Regions from separate parts of the Homo sapiens genome. Here region 2 is linked to region 1. Evidence: promoter capture Hi-C in 16 types of primary human blood cells and fetal thymus (Javierre and others, 2016). All regions are on one chromosome and are shown on one strand. Each heading gives the region's core, a stretch centred on a gene start or on the middle of the fragment in contact. The rest is flanking DNA. Distances are from core to core; before and after follow the strand shown.

The links. Contacts are between HindIII fragments. The CHiCAGO score rates a contact against its expected background, and 5 or more counts as called.
Region 2: a contact is called between a fragment that was not itself captured here and the fragment with the promoter of LRRC1 in region 1, in 5 of 17 cell types (total B cells, non-activated CD4 T cells, activated CD4 T cells and 2 more). The highest score is 7.4, in total B cells.

The regions. Positions count from the first base shown.
Region 1 is chr6:53,790,865-53,798,787 of GRCh38, forward strand. LRRC1 (leucine rich repeat containing 1) reads left to right here and starts at 4,141. Exons shown (of 14, transcript NM_018214.5): 1 at 4,141-4,551. The coding sequence starts at 4,393. It overlaps LOC124901333 (a long non-coding RNA gene), which reads right to left and starts at 2,811. Exons shown (of 5, transcript XR_007059619.1): 1 at 2,677-2,811; 2 at 2,419-2,485. RefSeq lists silencers at 2,832-2,961, 4,007-4,246 and an enhancer at 4,213-4,925. The HindIII fragment of the contact is 4,441 bases long and covers 1,016-5,456 here.
Region 2 is chr6:53,067,029-53,074,951 of GRCh38, forward strand. FBXO9 (F-box protein 9) reads left to right here. Exons shown (of 13, transcript NM_033480.3): 2 at 4,029-4,115; 3 at 6,453-6,611. Among named protein-coding and RNA genes, the nearest start is that of FBXO9, 5.6 kb to the left of the region's middle. The HindIII fragment of the contact is 4,628 bases long and covers 1,511-6,138 here.

The DNA of each region.
Region 1 (7,923 bases), core at 2,891-5,390:
AGACCACTGATTTAGGTTGTGTCACTTTATATTAGTTTGCATTTTCCAGAATTTTATATACATGGGATCATATAGTATGTACTCATTTGTGTTTGCCTTGTACACAACATAGTTTTTGCGATTTATGCACATTGCTACATGTATTAGTAGCTTGCTCCTTTTAGTTGAATGCTAGTCCATTGTTTCACTATACTACACTGTATCCGTCTGTTGATGAATATTTGGATTGTTTCCAGTTTGGGGCTATTATTAACAAAACTGCTATGCACATTTGTAAACAATCCTTGCTTGGACATATGTTTTCACTTTTTCTTGTGCAGATACCTAGGAGTAGAATGGGTAGATCATTAAGGTAGGCATATGATTACAATAAACTGCCAAATTGTTTTACAAAGTGGTTTTACCATTTTACACTTCCACCAGCAGTGTATGAATTCCAGTTGTTCCATTTTTTTATTTGTTTGAGACAGTGTCCTATGCTGTTGTCCAGGCTGAGTGCAGTGCCCAGCTCACTGCGGCCTCAAACTAACTAGGAGGCTCAAGTGATCCTTCCACCTTAGCCTTCTGAGTAGCTGGGACTACAGGCATATGCCACTATGCCAGGCTAATTTTTTATTTTTTGTAGAGGTGGGTGTCTCCCTATGTTGCCCAGGCTGGTCTTGAACTCCTGGCCTCAAGCGATCCCTCCACCCCATTCCGCCTGGGCCTCCCTAAGTGTTGGAATCAGGTGTCAGCCACTCTGCCGGGCCAAGTTGCTCTATATCTTCAGTAACATTTGGGATTGTCTTTTTTTTTTTTTCTTTAATTTTAAGTCATTCTAGTGGTTAGGCGGTGGTATGTCACATTAAAATTCACATGCCCAAACCTCTGAATCCCCATTTACAAGAATCCCTATCTTACACGCTAACACTTTGGATTTTCACTTAAAAAAATTAATGATATCATGCTCAAAAAATTAATGATAAAGCAACAACAGACCACTAAGTATTTATCATTCTCCTAACTTCAGAGAGTAAGCTTCATGAGGCTAAGACCTATCTTGTTTTTCTTACATTTCTAGTATCTAGCACAATGCCTGGTGCATAGTATGTACCTTTATTAGTTATTTGTTGCTGTGTAATAAATTACTCCAAATCTTAGCAGCTTAAAGCAACAAACATTTACTGTCTCACATAATTTCTGAGGGGCAAGAGTGGGGAGCAGCTTAGCTGAGTGGTCCTGAGTCTGAGGCTATCATGAGGTTTTAGTCAAGCTATCAGCTGGTGCTGCAGTCACTTGAAGGCTTGACAAGGGCTGGAGAACTGGCTTCCAAGATGGCTCACTCACATGACTACTGCCAAGAATCGTCAGTCCCTTGCTAGTTGTTGTCAGCAGTCTGCAATTCTTTGGCATGTGGAGCTCTAGATTTGCTCAACATGGCAGCTGGCTTCCCCAAAGTGAGTGATTCGAGAAAGAAAAAGTTGGTTACATAGACCAACCAGGAGATGGTGGATGTTGTCCCTAACTTCCTGGAGGCTGGCTAATAAAGTGCATAATTAATATTTATTGATTAAAGTAATGTGTGTCTGATACTGTACTAAGCATTTTACATATGTCATTTCATTTAATCCAGATAACAATCCCATGAATCATCCTCATTTGAGATATGATAAAACTGAGGCTTATACAAGTTAAGTAAACTGTCAATTTCTACGAAGCTAGTGGCATAACAAGAGTTCAAACACAGATCTCTTTAGCTCAAAGGCTGTGAAAACATGGTTCACAGTACAAATGAATAAAAGAATTACATTATTCTAAGAATAAAGTGATTTAGGTGGTCTTTTTAAACTTTGTTTAAATTGAGTCAAACTCATTTGTATGTGGCGGAAGAAACTAGATGTTTTATCAGGCGGGAAACCCTAAAATTCTTCAGGTGAGTAAAAAGTTAATTGCTTCCCTATTCTGTAGTTGACAAGGTGTTGTTTCATTTTTTCTCTCTTACTACGCTGTTTCAAATTCTTGGCAGATTATTGGAAACAAGGAAAGTCAAGAATTCTCCCAGTGACTACCCATAGAATTAAATCAACAAAAACTGTTGATCATTGACTGTGCATATGGCACTGTGGCAGCTTCCCAGATCTACAAAGCAAGTGAGACAGTATCTGTTGTTTAAGAGGTCATAATCTCTTTCGGATTAAGGTGATACAAAAATAATAACACAGAGAAGCTGAAGCATCATGGAGAGGCACACAAGGAATGCTTATTGAGGTCTGAATTTTTAAAAGACTGGACACGTCTTTAAAATACATTTGGTGTTCGTTAAAATAATCTAGTGTGATAACCTCTGGAAATCACATTATTTTAAATGGAGGGAACTAGCCTTCTTTAATTTTTTTTTTAAAAAGCAGTTGGAAAACTTGAAGACAGGGACTTACTTACCTTTCCACATGTCTCTGTCAGGAACCAGTTTTCTAGGAAGGGTGGCAGAAATGAGCTTCATATGTTTCTGGAATGCAAGAATGTAGAAAGGGGGGTGGAGGTTCAAAGTCCAGGTAGCCCTCTGTGAGAACGCAGGAATCAAATCAGGACAAACAAAAGAAGGGTGAAGTGGGTAGGGCAACGGAGTTTCGGGATTGACTGGAATGAGAGTTAAGGTGATAATGCTGGGGTGGAAATGAAAGTCAGACCCCTCCTTACGGACTGGGAAGAAAGGAGCCCTCCTAGTAAAGTTGAAAAGACCAAGTGTCCTCTTCTCCATTTCACCGGGGAAACGCTCCTGTGCCTAGTCGTAAGGTACAGGAGAGTCTATGGAGCCCATGGAGAGTCTAATGCAAAAACTAGTTTCCGACCAAACTTTGCCTTGGCCACTGAGCATGCTCAGCTTTGTCTTCTATAGAAAAGTGAACTCCGTGGCTCCAGATTTTAGCTATAGCAGCTGGAGGGCGGGAGTGAGTGTGGGAGAGCCAGCGTGGCAGCGGCCGCAGGTGGAAACCTGGAGTTTGAGTATGCTTGAAAGGGAAAGTGTGGAACGAAGGGGCGGCCGGGTGGGGAATCAGAGAAGCCCCCAAGGAAATGATTCATCATTGTGATTGACCTTGACTTTAGCAACCCTTCATTAAAGGAGAAAATTTGGTTATTCGGAGATGGGGACTGTGTTGCAAACAGTTACAGGCAAAGAGGGGCAGTTCAGGATTCCGGCCGTGGTCCGCAGGAATGAGTCGGGGCGAGGGAATGGTTGTTATAACCCAATAGTGAGCCTCCCCGGTCATCCGGGCTGGACGGGACTGGGGTTGTAGCAGAAAAGCAGGAGCTGTATGGAGGATGCTCACCTGGCAGCCTCGATCTGCCCCTCTTCCCTCGCTCCTCCCTCCGCACCAGCCACAGCTAGTTGTCAGGGGCCAACATCTGGGCCGGGCTGGAACTGGCTCAGAAACTCGCGTTTGCCTGCTTATTTCTGCAGCTGGGCTCCTTGCCAGGTGCAACCACATCTATGAGAATCTCGCAGACTCTCAGACTCCTATGCCTTTGCTGGTACAGGGAGGAGGATTTACTATCACTCACTGCATAAACCATGATCACCAGAGATGTGCTCCCAAGTTACAAAGCCTGCAGGCGGTGCCCGAGGACCAGAGGGCCGGGCGCGGCCAGCTCACACTTCTGGGGCAGCCGTGAGCAGCGGGCACACGGGCAGCCACGAAAGCAGCAGCGAGGGTGGTGCAAACACCTCAAAACTACACCGAATCCAGTAGCGCCTGGCGCCCCCGGCGCGCAAGGTACGCTTTGGGGCGGTCCTGTGTGACCCCGGAAGAGAAAGTTGTTTTGGGGAAGGGGAGCAAGGAGAGGAGTGCGAGTTAAATAAAACTAAATATCAAAGTTGTTCTGCTCTGCTCAGGCCGCCTCTACTCCGCCTCATCTTTGTCCCAAGTCCTTTCACAGTCTGCCTTCCTCAAACGGCCCGATGCGCCCCCGTCTTTGCCGGAGTAAGCAGACCGCCAGCAGCCGGCCCGCAGGTCAGTCGACCCTCTCTGGATGCAGGTCGCCGGGAAAACCCGGAGCGGAGCATCCCTCGGGCCGGGAAACGCCCTCGGCGCGCACCCACTGGCGCGCATGCTCAGTCCGCGCGGCGGCTGCGAGTAGGAAGCTCCGCGCGGCGGCGGGGGCGGCGACGGCGACTGGCGGGTGGGAGTGGAGGCACCGGCTGGCGGGCGGGGGTACAGGGACGGGGCAGGGGCTCCCGCTCCAGGTTCCTTGAAGCACTTCCGACCGCGAAGCCCGGCGCGAGAAGCGAGCTAACCCAAGAGCCAACAACGAGCGCGGAGAGGGCAGCGGACTGAGCGGAGCCGCCGGCCAGAGCGGGCTCGGAGCCCGGGTCTCCGCCGCTCGGGACCCGGCTAGGCGGCGGCGGGGGCGGCGATGTTCCACTGCATCCCCCTGTGGCGGTGCAACCGTCATGTGGAGAGCATCGACAAGCGCCACTGCTCGCTGGTCTACGTCCCCGAGGAGATCTACCGCTATGCCCGGAGCCTGGAGGAGCTGCTGCTGGACGCCAACCAGCTCCGCGAGCTGCCCGAGGTAAGGGTCCGGCCTCACCTGAGCGCTCTGCCCGCTCGTCTGCTGTCCCTTCCGCTCCCATCCTCTCTCGTCCCCTCTTCCATCTCCGGGTCCGGCGTGAAGGAACCTTCCCTCTTTTATGCATTCACCTGCTTCTTTCTCCCCCTGTCTCTTTACTTCCATCCTTTCCCAGTAAAAGTTCCTTTTCATTTTATTCAAAGTGACCGGATATTTTGCGCGTAGTCACTGGGGCTCGTGCTATTGGAGAAGCGTTCTGGACTGTTAAGTAACTTAGATCCATGCTAGGTACTGACACCTGGCACTTGTGCCCGGTCAGGTGAGAAGCCGGGTGATTCGGGCTGTTTCCATCTGGAAGCTACAGAGCACTGCATCCTCCCCCCCTCCACTCCCCGGGGTCGTTCCCCCACCAAGGGCCGGGCGCGCCTCTCCTTTAGTCAAGGCATGTCCCGGAGGACCTTGTGACCTGGGCAGCGCTCAAGCGGGCCGCACTATCTCGGCATCTTGGGAGGAATGAGGAATGTGCTCCGTGCTTTATCGCGGGTGGGCTTGGCCGGCTGGCCTGCGGTGGCTGCGGGGGTGGACGCGAGATGGGCGCAGGGGAGAGCTGGGCCTGGAGCGCTAGGGGCAGGTGCCCAGATGCCGGCCGCCCGGGCCTTGCCTACGTGGACCTGTTGCGTGGTGGGAGCTGCGGTGAACGTCAGCGGAGGCTCTGCCCGCGGGCCAGCCTTGCAGCCGCCTTTCCCGGAGCGGGCACAGTCGTCCTGCTGACTTTCTCTCCTTGCAGTGATGCGTTATCTCTTCAGAGTTGTTTATGTAAATTGATCACTCCATTGCCGCCGAACTTGTCAAGCGACATGTGCTGATGGTGCTTTGACCGAGAGTAGGGGTACAGCGAACTTCTTTCAAGCTTGCCTCGGGAACTTAGCTAGAGTAACCCCTCGGGGAAGGTGTCTCAAACCCAGGTGTGTGCAGGAAGTCGGTGTGCAATAATCCAAAGGTGTGCAGGAAGTAGGGAGACTGCTGGCAGTCGGGGATTGGACCTGTTTTAGGCCTGAGCTTTGGAACGCAAACTTCTTGTTGCCCTTTAGTTAACACAAGCCAAATCATTGTCACAGAAACACTAGTCAAGTGTTCTGACTTGTTAGAATGACCTGATACGTTCTCCAGCGCTGATGGAGCATTTAAACAATAAGAACTGTGTGTTTTTCTCAATATTTTAAGTGGTGGTGTTCTTCTTGGATTAACTTTCCTGGGTTCATGTGGAATTGATTGGATGTTTGCTCTGTGTAATCATGGAGATTATCCTCACTAGGACCTTTGCAAAGCCCCCCAGGCTTTATTTAGCTTAGAAGCAGCAAAGCCATCAAGTTCCCTCAGGCGTTTATTATTTCGCAGGCATTTTCAAACACATGATTTTTTTCTGGCCTTTTACGTCCTTGAAGATTTCTTACCAGTCGTCAGCTCCCTCACTGCTTTAAGTTGTGTAATTTTAGGCAGTGATATCACCAGGAATATAGAATATGTAATTTAATAGTTTTCAGGGGCTTCAGGATGACATTATTGAAGATGGAGTGAAAAGTTATTCACTAGAAATGATTCATTGCTCTTTGTGGTATTTGTTTTTTTGTTTTCTTTTGTAGAACTGGAAGATTTCCTTTGACTGGATTGGCTTTTCACTCCCTTCTGCAGGGTTTGTGGGTTTTCCTGTAATGTTGGGGAATTCAGCTTGGCATGGGAAATTACATAATTTCCCATGCCAAGCCGAAATGTCAGGTCTTTCTGTGATCCTAAATGGAAACTTGTCAGAATCTCAAAATATAGTCTGATGGCACTCTGTAAATATGGTAAATAAACAAGCTTTTCAAAGGTTACAGGTGATCTTGCTAATGGATTATTATTGCTCTAACAGCTGTTAAATTAGTATTAAAGTTTTTAGGTTGTGTAAAATCTACTTCTCCCTGACTTATTGTGTGTCTTGGTGCCTGGGTGTGTACATGCCAGACATGAGAACCACCTTGCAAACATAGATATCTGTTCCATCCCTTCCATTCTTTCCTTGGGCTATCTGTTGTCTCACCTCTGAGATCTGTATAACTTATTACCACTGGTCTCTGCTGCTCCTGCTCCAAACCCCTGTCTCCTTACCTGCCACACACAAGCGCATCTGTTTTGTTCACAAGCCTCAAAGGTCCTTATTTTGGTGGCCATACCAGCTGTATGTTCTCCTCTCTATAATTTGTTTGGAAGCACAGCTTAAGGGGAAGCCGGTACCCCTTACCAGGGCAGCAAAGATGCACTCTCCAGGTTTCAGTGTAATAACAGCCACCTTCTTTCCACTGAAAGGCCTGCAACTTCTGGTTTGCGCCAATATCTTCCTTTTACAAATTCAGATTCAGAATTGAGGTGACTTTCTCAGGGCTGTCCAGTGAGTTAGATGCAGTTGCTGGTGGGTCTTGTTCATTCAGATGTCAGCCAAATACAATTGCTTTGGACACCTAGCAGGAATCTTCTATCCTGCTTCTCACACCCATCAAATCTTTATTTAGTCTCTCCTGTTTTACTCATGTCATTATAACTTAGCCTTAGCCAAGCATTTATTGAGACTCCATTATTTACAAGTTATTGGGAATATAGAGATTAAAGGAGGCATGATTCACATCTTTGGGAGGAAGCAGATGATTTTAATCCAGATGTAGTTAGTGTGGGATGGAAAGGACACCACGGTTAAACTACTCCTAAGCTATGGACTTGATGGTTACTTCCCTAATCTTTTAACCTTTTGCATCAGATCCCTCATCTTCAGTTTGGTTGCAGTTGGGTGATAGCCTCACCATCCTTTTTGCATCCACCTACTTCTCCCCCATACCCGCAGTTTGATCCTTTTTGGCTCTGTGCTAACAAAGGCAGTCTCACTGTAACCTTCTTGAGATGTCTGTGTGTTTTTGCTTACCTTTGTTTATTTTTTATTTATTTATTTTTTGAGACGGAGTCTCACTCTTGTTGCCTAGGCTGGAGTGCAGTGGCACGATCTCCACTCACTGCAAGCTCCTCCTTCTGGGTTCACACCATTCTCCTGCCTCAGCCTCTCGAGTAGCTGGGACTACAGGTGCCCACCACCACACCCAGCTAATTTTTTAGTATTTTTAGTAGAGACAGGGTTTCACCATGTTAGCCAGGATGGTCTCGATCTCCTGACCTCATGACCCACCCGCCTTAGCCTCCCAAAGTGCTGGGATTACAGGCGTGAGCCACCATGCCCGGCCTTACCTTTGTTCAGCACAGAATCTCATCCTTGTGACACCCAATAGGTCTTGCTCAATAAACAGTTATTTATCTGTTGAATGAATGTTGCCGAATCTTATAAAAATCTTC
Region 2 (7,923 bases), core at 2,575-5,074, 720 kb before region 1:
TTTCCTCATCCTTCAGATACACATTATCCAGATGGCATTTTATTTGTCGATTCAGCCAATATTTTTGAGTACCTATTAGCCTGGCATAGTGTGAGACTCTGGTACAATACTAGATCTTCAATATAACCAAACCTGCAAGGTGATTTATGATAAACTTTTAATCACAGAATGTCACATGAAAAGGGACCTCAGTAGATCACCATACCTCTTTATAGATGTCCCATAGACATGACAGCTGAGGCCTAGACAGGCCTTTACTACAAATCAAGCAATGTGTTTGACCTTATGGTTACAGAGGTAACTGAGATGTGTTCCTGTCCTGGATGCCTTAAATCTAGTAAATGAAACAGCCAACCTCAGTACAAATGTTGTGATAAAAGTAAGCACAAGTGTTATGGGAACACAAAAATGTTGAAAAATGCTTCTGACTAAGATGAACCCTGAGCTGAATCTTGAAGAATGAGTAGAAATAGCTAAGTGAGGAAGAAGGCATTCCAGATAGAGCAAGCAGCGTATGCAAGCCAACTGGACAGAGCAGGGGAAGCTCTTGAAGTCAGTTTAGAATGACTGCTAGGCAAGAGTTAGAAAACTAAATTACAAAGGATACCCCACAGAACTCAGGTCCCCTCGCATTACCTGTACTTAGAGTTTGCAATAATAAAGCAGACTCTTGAGAAGAGAGAGAAATACACTTCTCAGTGGGATTTATACGCTCAGTCTTTCATTACATATTTTCCTACTAATGGTGTTCTTAGTAGGAAAAGCTCCCAACTTAAAGAAACTAAAAAATAATGTATTTGACAATACATTAATCCTTAAATTTTCCATTTTTCTAGAAATTCATCTGAGTTCTTGATCTCATTTATTTCTTCACAGATGTGTGCTTTACAGTGTGCCCAGCATTTTACCATATACTAACTGGTTCAAGTCTGAAAGGCACCTCTGCTTTGAGTCTGCTTGCCAGAGATAAGATAGGAGGCAAGGCTAATTTATGTTCTGTAATATAGTGCAAGTATATCTGGTAGCTGTGTTAAAGATGTGTGTTAATATAAACATTACCCTCCCCCCCCTGGCCGCCCTGAAATAACATATGACTAAAATTTGCAATTGTAAAACTTACCATCTTTGGAACCAGTAAAATTAAATGGGTTTTATTATTATCTAGCTTACCTTGAAGGCCATTTCCCTGATTGCCACATTTCTTTACAGTAAGTGTTGAGCAAGTTTCATTTCCTAATAAATCTATTAGCTAACAGACTGAACTGAGGCAACATGCCATTTTCACTGGAAGGTAGGATTTAGTTTAATTTAGCAAACATTTATTGAGAATAAAAGGATAAAATTAAAGTCATCTGATTGAAACCTTTATTAGGCTCCAAGTCACACACAGTAATTCCAGTCTAGCTTTATTCCACTGAAGCCGATCCAATATATAAAAATTGGATTTATAGACAGATAAAATAGAAGGGGTTTCTTTACAAAAGCATTTACTATTAAAAGTCTTTGACTAAGCTTTCCTAGTACATATAAAATACACAGAAGTCATATTTTCATAGAACACATTTAATAACATGCTAGCTGTATAAAAGAAGTGACATCATCTTACGGAATATATATATATATGTGTTTTTTTTTTTTTTTTGAGACAGGGTCTCTCTCTGTCTCCTGGGTTGGAGAGCAGTGGTGCAGTCTCGGCTCACTGCAACCTGCATCTCCCAGGCTCAAGCAATCCTCTCACCTCAGCCTCCCGAGTAGCTGGGGCTACTGTGTACCACCACCCCCTGGTAATTTTTGTATTTTTTGTAGAGACGGGGTCTTGCCATGTTGCCCAGCCTTGTCTCAAACTCCTGGGCTCAAGCAGTCCTTCCACCTCAGCCTTCCAAAGTGTTGGGATTACAGGCATGAGCCACCACACCCTGCCTGGACTGTATTCTCTTAAGTGATCCATGAAGCAAAAACTATCTGCTACAGCCAGGTATGGCTGCACAAGCCTGTAGTCTCAGCTACTCAAGAGGTGGAGCAGAAGGATCTTTGGAGCTCAGGAGTTTGAGGCCATCCTGGGCTGCATAAGGAGACTCTGTCCCAAGAAAGCAATAACTATTTGCTGAACTCCATAGGACAACTAAATGTTACTATTTTCTGAAACAAAGTTGTTATTTTTAGCCACCTAACAATACATTTTAACCTAGAACCCAGTGGATTTGTTTATTCTACAGTATCAAAAAAAATTCAAGTATCAAGTTATATCTGATTGGTATCATTAAACTTACCTGTGAAGAAGATAACTATAAAGAAGCAATGTTGTATTTCATTAACATGAAACATTAGAGTATTTTCTGTTTTGGGACTTGTAGAAGTTTATGGACACTAAAATTATTTGGGCTTTTTGCCTTAGACTCAATTATGTTTGGAACATCTGTCACAGCACCTTGTCAACTGCATTCTAGAACATTTCTCCTCCTGATGGAAAATACAACATGACCTATGAGGCAGTCTTGCAAAAGAAAAAAGAAATAGCAGAATCTAATCTAGCCTTTCAAGATCCTGCCACAATTTATAGGAAATAAGAGTAAGAGGTCAAAGGAACATATTTATTGACACCTCAGCAAAATCTAGCTTCTACAGAAAAACGACCCAGTTTCATCCCAAATAAATTACAAGAAAAAAGAGTGAGGATTACAAAAGACTTGAGACATATCAAGCAATTACAATGTGGACTTTATTTGAATCTTGATTTCACAAACTGTGAAATATATGTATTTTACATATGACATCTTGAGAAATATGAATACTGTGACTTGATATTTGATCTAAGGAATTACATTGATAATTATTGAAGTTGGGTCATGAGTACTTAGGGATTAATTCTCTTTAAGTGTTTTTCTCATAAAAAGTTTTAAAGTCTTGTAGAACTAAAAAAATACCAAAGATGTTCTAATTTTATTTCATTTTTTTCTAAGAAGAATAATATTTTTCTTTTCTTTTTTCCTTTTTTTTTTTTTTTTTTTTTTTATGATGGGGTCTCTGTCATCCAGGCTGGAGTGCAATGGTGCAGTCTCGGCTCACTGCAACCTCCATCTCTCAGGCTCAAGCAACCCTCCCACCTCAGCCTCCCAATTAGCTGGGACCACAGGCGTGTACCACCACGCCTGGCTGATTTTTTGTATTTTTAGTAGAGATGGGGTTTCACTATGTTGGCTAGGCTGGTCTTGAACTCCTGACCTCAAGTGATGCTCCTGCCTCAGCCTCACAAAGTGTGGGGATTACAGGTGTGAGCCACCGCACCTGGCCAGAAAAAGAGAAAATAATTTTTATTATAGATTATCAGTAGTTATGTATATTAATGAAGAATTTGGCTTCATTTACCTAATTAGATTAATCATAAATCATTTATGAATAGTAATAGACTTGAATTGTTACTTTATATTACACAGTTGGCCCTCTGTACCTGCAGGTTCTGCATCCTGGGATTCAACTGTGGATCAAAAATATTTGGGGGAAAAAAAGCAATACAACAATAAAAAATAATACAAATTAGGAAAAATATACTACAAGAACTATTTACATGGCATTTACATTATAAGTAACCTAGAGATGACTTAAAGTATATGAGAAGATGTGCATAGGTTATATGCAAATATGCCATATGAGGGACTGGAAAACCCAGGGATTTTGGTGTCCTGGGGGCTCCTGGAACTAATCACCTGTGGATACTGAGGGACAACTGTAATTAAATTGATTTTTGGATGGATGCAACTGATGTTAAATTTGGCGGGGGGGAAATGTTAGGATTCACAATAACGTGAGTACTGTGGGTTGGAGTAGAGAATATGCTTTTCAGACTCATTTTCCTTTGGAAATTAATAGTAAGGTCTCAAGTGCCCCCTACAGCCTTGCTACTCAAAGTGGGTTCCACAAAGTGTTGACAGTATGGTACTAAATAGAAAGTGGCTGAATGAGAAATGTAGATTGCAGAGGGCAACTGGTGTGTTTATATGCCTGACATTATTTGGGTTTTCCCCCCTCAGGCAGAAGCTGAGGAAGATTGTCATTCTGATACTGTCAGAGCAGATGATGATGAAGAAAATGAAAGTCCTGCTGAAACAGATCTGCAGGCATGTTTCTTCAATTGTGTCTTTGATTTTTATTCCATTGTTCCCATACATATGCAGAAATTGATCATAATCATGGGTATTTGTAGGTTATTACTGTTTGCATGGAATTTAACTGTTTCCATACTGGTTTATAGAATACTTAAAACTATGTTATGGCTTTCTTTGTGAAAAGAAATATCAATAATGGTTGCTTGTAGTTTAACATGGGTTTAAAGTATTCAAACTAAGGCTTACGCATGACTCAAAACCCATAATCTTAAAAAGATTGATGGGTTTGACCACCTAAAAGTTTAAAACCTGTGTATAAGAAAAGGCATCATAAATAAAGTTAAGAGAAATAGCCAGCTGGAAAAACTGTTTATTATATATGGGCAGAGGATTCATCTCATTACATAGAGCACTCATATATTTGGAAGAACAGAGGATAAAAAGATATGAGTGGACTGTTAATGGCAAAATAATACAAATGGCCATTAAATATTTGAAGAGATAATTAGCCTCATTAATAATTTAATCAGATTGGTGAATAATGTGCATCGCTGTCCAAGCTGTGAGAACACTCATGCAGTGTACATGAAAATGTAAATTGGTACAGCTTTCTGGAGGGCAGACTGGTGATATGGATCAAAATGAAAAACATGCATTCCCTTGATACAGCAATTCTACTTCCAGGAAATTAATTTTAAGGAAATAGTGGGGAAAGTAAATATGCAACTATAAAGATGTTTAGTATAGCATTGTTTATCTGGAAAAACATCATACAACTTAAATATTCATTACCTGTTATTAAGTAATGATGCATCCATACAGTGAAAACACTACAGCCATTTAAAAGGATGAAGTAAATCTTTATACATTAAAAGAGAAAAAAAGTTGCTGTAACTAGTTAAGTGTGTCTCACTGCACTTGTAAGGTTAATAATAATTATTTGGAACAGCTCATCTAGTAGACATTGAATGCTGCTAAAGATTCTGCAGGTCAGAGATCTATGTGTAACAGGTTAAAAGCGTAGCAACAAAGCAGTGTACAGAATATAGAGAAAAATTAATTTAAAACATTCTAGATACGTCTTTTTTTAAAAAAAAAAAAGGAAGCCAGGAATAACATATGCATCCCTGTTAGCAATGGCTGCCTTTGGGCAGAACGTGTAACCCAGTTTGGGTTCCCCAGGAAGCAGACTAGGTGAAGATTGCTGTGCAGGAAGTTTATTAAGGAGTATTCTTGGGATCAACACCTATGGAAGGGAGAGAGGGAAACAAATGGGCAGGGAGAAGACCAGCTGCAATGCAGTCTTAATGGACTGCTTAGCCATCCTCGAGGGAGTTCTGAAGATGAAATACCCTTTCAGAGATGACCTGAGTTGCAAAGAGCCAAGACTTTATTAGCCGTTGATCAGTCATTGGGTGGGGATTGAGAGGACAGTGTGATTTTGCTGAGGCAATACCCAAAAGGGCTGACAACTCAAGTGTTTTCAGATAGAACTCTCAGCAGTTTGGGTAACAAGTTCTTTATTTCTGAAAGGGAATCTGGGCAACACACCAGAGTCTACCTTATAGGGTTCACTTTTTATGTGCTTTTAATTTTTTTTTTTTTTGAGATGGAGTCTCGCTCCATTGCCCAGGCTGGAGTGCAGTAGCACGATCTCTGCTGACTGCCAACCTCTGCCACCCGAGTTCAAGCAATTCTCATGGCTCAGCCTCCCAAGTAGCTGGGATTACAGGTGCCCGCCACCACACCTGGCTAATTTGTTTGTATTTTTAGTAGAGACAGGGTTTCACCATGTTGGCCGGGCTGTTCTCGAACTCCTGACCTCAGGTGATCCGTCTGCCTCGGCCTCCCAAAGTGCTGGGATTATAGGCATGAGCCTCTGTGCCTGGCCTTTACATTTTTGAAATAACAAATATTTGAAAAAACATTTTCTTTTTGAAATACAGAATGTTAATAGATTTTGGGCTTACCTACAGAATTTTTGGCAGCATTCTTAATGTCTACTAGATGATATAGTCATTAAAAAATTATTGGAAGCTTATAACTTCAGTCTGTAAGTGATGGCTTATATTTTCAATTCTAATTAAAATTTGGTTTTCCAATATAATTTGACTTTTGGTGTACTGACATGTATTTTATGCTAATTTTCTTGATTCTTTAAGTTTTGAGCAGAAAATTATTTTAAAAGATGTATTTAATGGATATTTAATAATTCAGAAGACAGTGATTTCTGGACTTAGAGTAATAAGTATATACGTGGAAGTAGATAGATGTTGGACATATTGATACATTGTTCCAGAGTTGAGCTACCCTTCCTTGATGAGTCCTAAAATGCTGTTCTCCCCATAGGCACAACTCCAGATGTTCCGAGCTCAGTGGATGTTTGAACTTGCTCCAGGTGTAAGCTCTAGCAATTTAGAAAATCGACCTTGCAGAGCAGCAAGAGGCTCTCTCCAGAAAACATCGGCAGATACCAAAGGAAAACAAGAACAGGCAAAAGAAGAAAAGTTAAGTATTATAGATATTGTAACAAATTACATTTTTTTTTTTTTGGCACATGGAAATTTTCACTGACACAGTAAGTAGGCATTATAACCAGACTTTCGGGACATAAACACATATCTTGTAAAATAAAAATTTTGACTAGTATACTAGTTTATATATTTCTCACAATTTCTTCTAGGTACTTTGGATGGTACCACTACTCCTGCATGGCTTTTTTCTCTGTGGGTACACTGTCTTCATTGAGCTGTCTTTTGTTAATTTATAGACCTCTGGGATTCATGTGGTTCCTAAAAGATTGGTGTCTCTGAATTTATTAACAGAACCAAAAAGAAAAAACAGAATTTTCTAAATTTATTAATAGAACCAAAAAGATTGCTCACATGTTAATGTCTTTCCAGAGGTCTTAATTTCATGCAGTATTTTGTTATATTTTGAATTGATCAGCTTACAATAATGCATTAATCATTTCCTTATTCTGGAAAATTTTGAAATATTTTCACACTGAAAATATTTTGAATGCTGTCTAACATTCATATCTCTTCTGGTACTTACTCACACAGAGTAGGCACAGCATACCATTTCATTTCTTATTCTTCTTCCATAGAGGCTGCCATCTTTTTACCATCAGATCCAAGTTTGTGTTTATAATTAGTCATCAAATAATTGGCATTACCATGATGACTTACCTTCTATCTCCTCTTAATTTTTATTTTGAAATAATTACAGGTCCACAGGTATAGGGAAGTCCTGTGTGCCCTTTAACCTCCTCCGATGGTAACAACTTGCATAACTATAGTACAATATCAAAAACGAGGAAATAGACATTGGAACAATCCACAGTTTACTTGGATTTCCTGAGTTTACAAGCACTTGTCTGTGTGTATGTGTATAAATAGTTGTTTGCAGTTTTATTACAAGGTAGCTTCATGTAACCACCACCACAATCAAGATACAGAACTGTTTTATAGTTATATACTCCCTTTCCCTAGCCATTCGTAACCACTGGCAACCACTAGTCTGTTCTCCATTTTGTAATTTTGATATTCCAAGAATGTTGTATAAGTGGAATCATCCAGTATGTAACCTTTTGAGATTGGCTTTTTTCACTAAGTATAATTCCCTCAAGATCAGTCCAAGTTACTATGTATCAGTAGTTTGTTCCTTTTTATTGCAGAATAGTATTGCATGGTATGGATGTACCCCAGTTTAACCATTTATTGGTTGAAGGACATTTGAGTTGTTTCCAATATTTGGCTGTTATGAATGGAGCTATGGAAATATGTGTGTAGGTTTTCTCATGAACATAATTTTCACT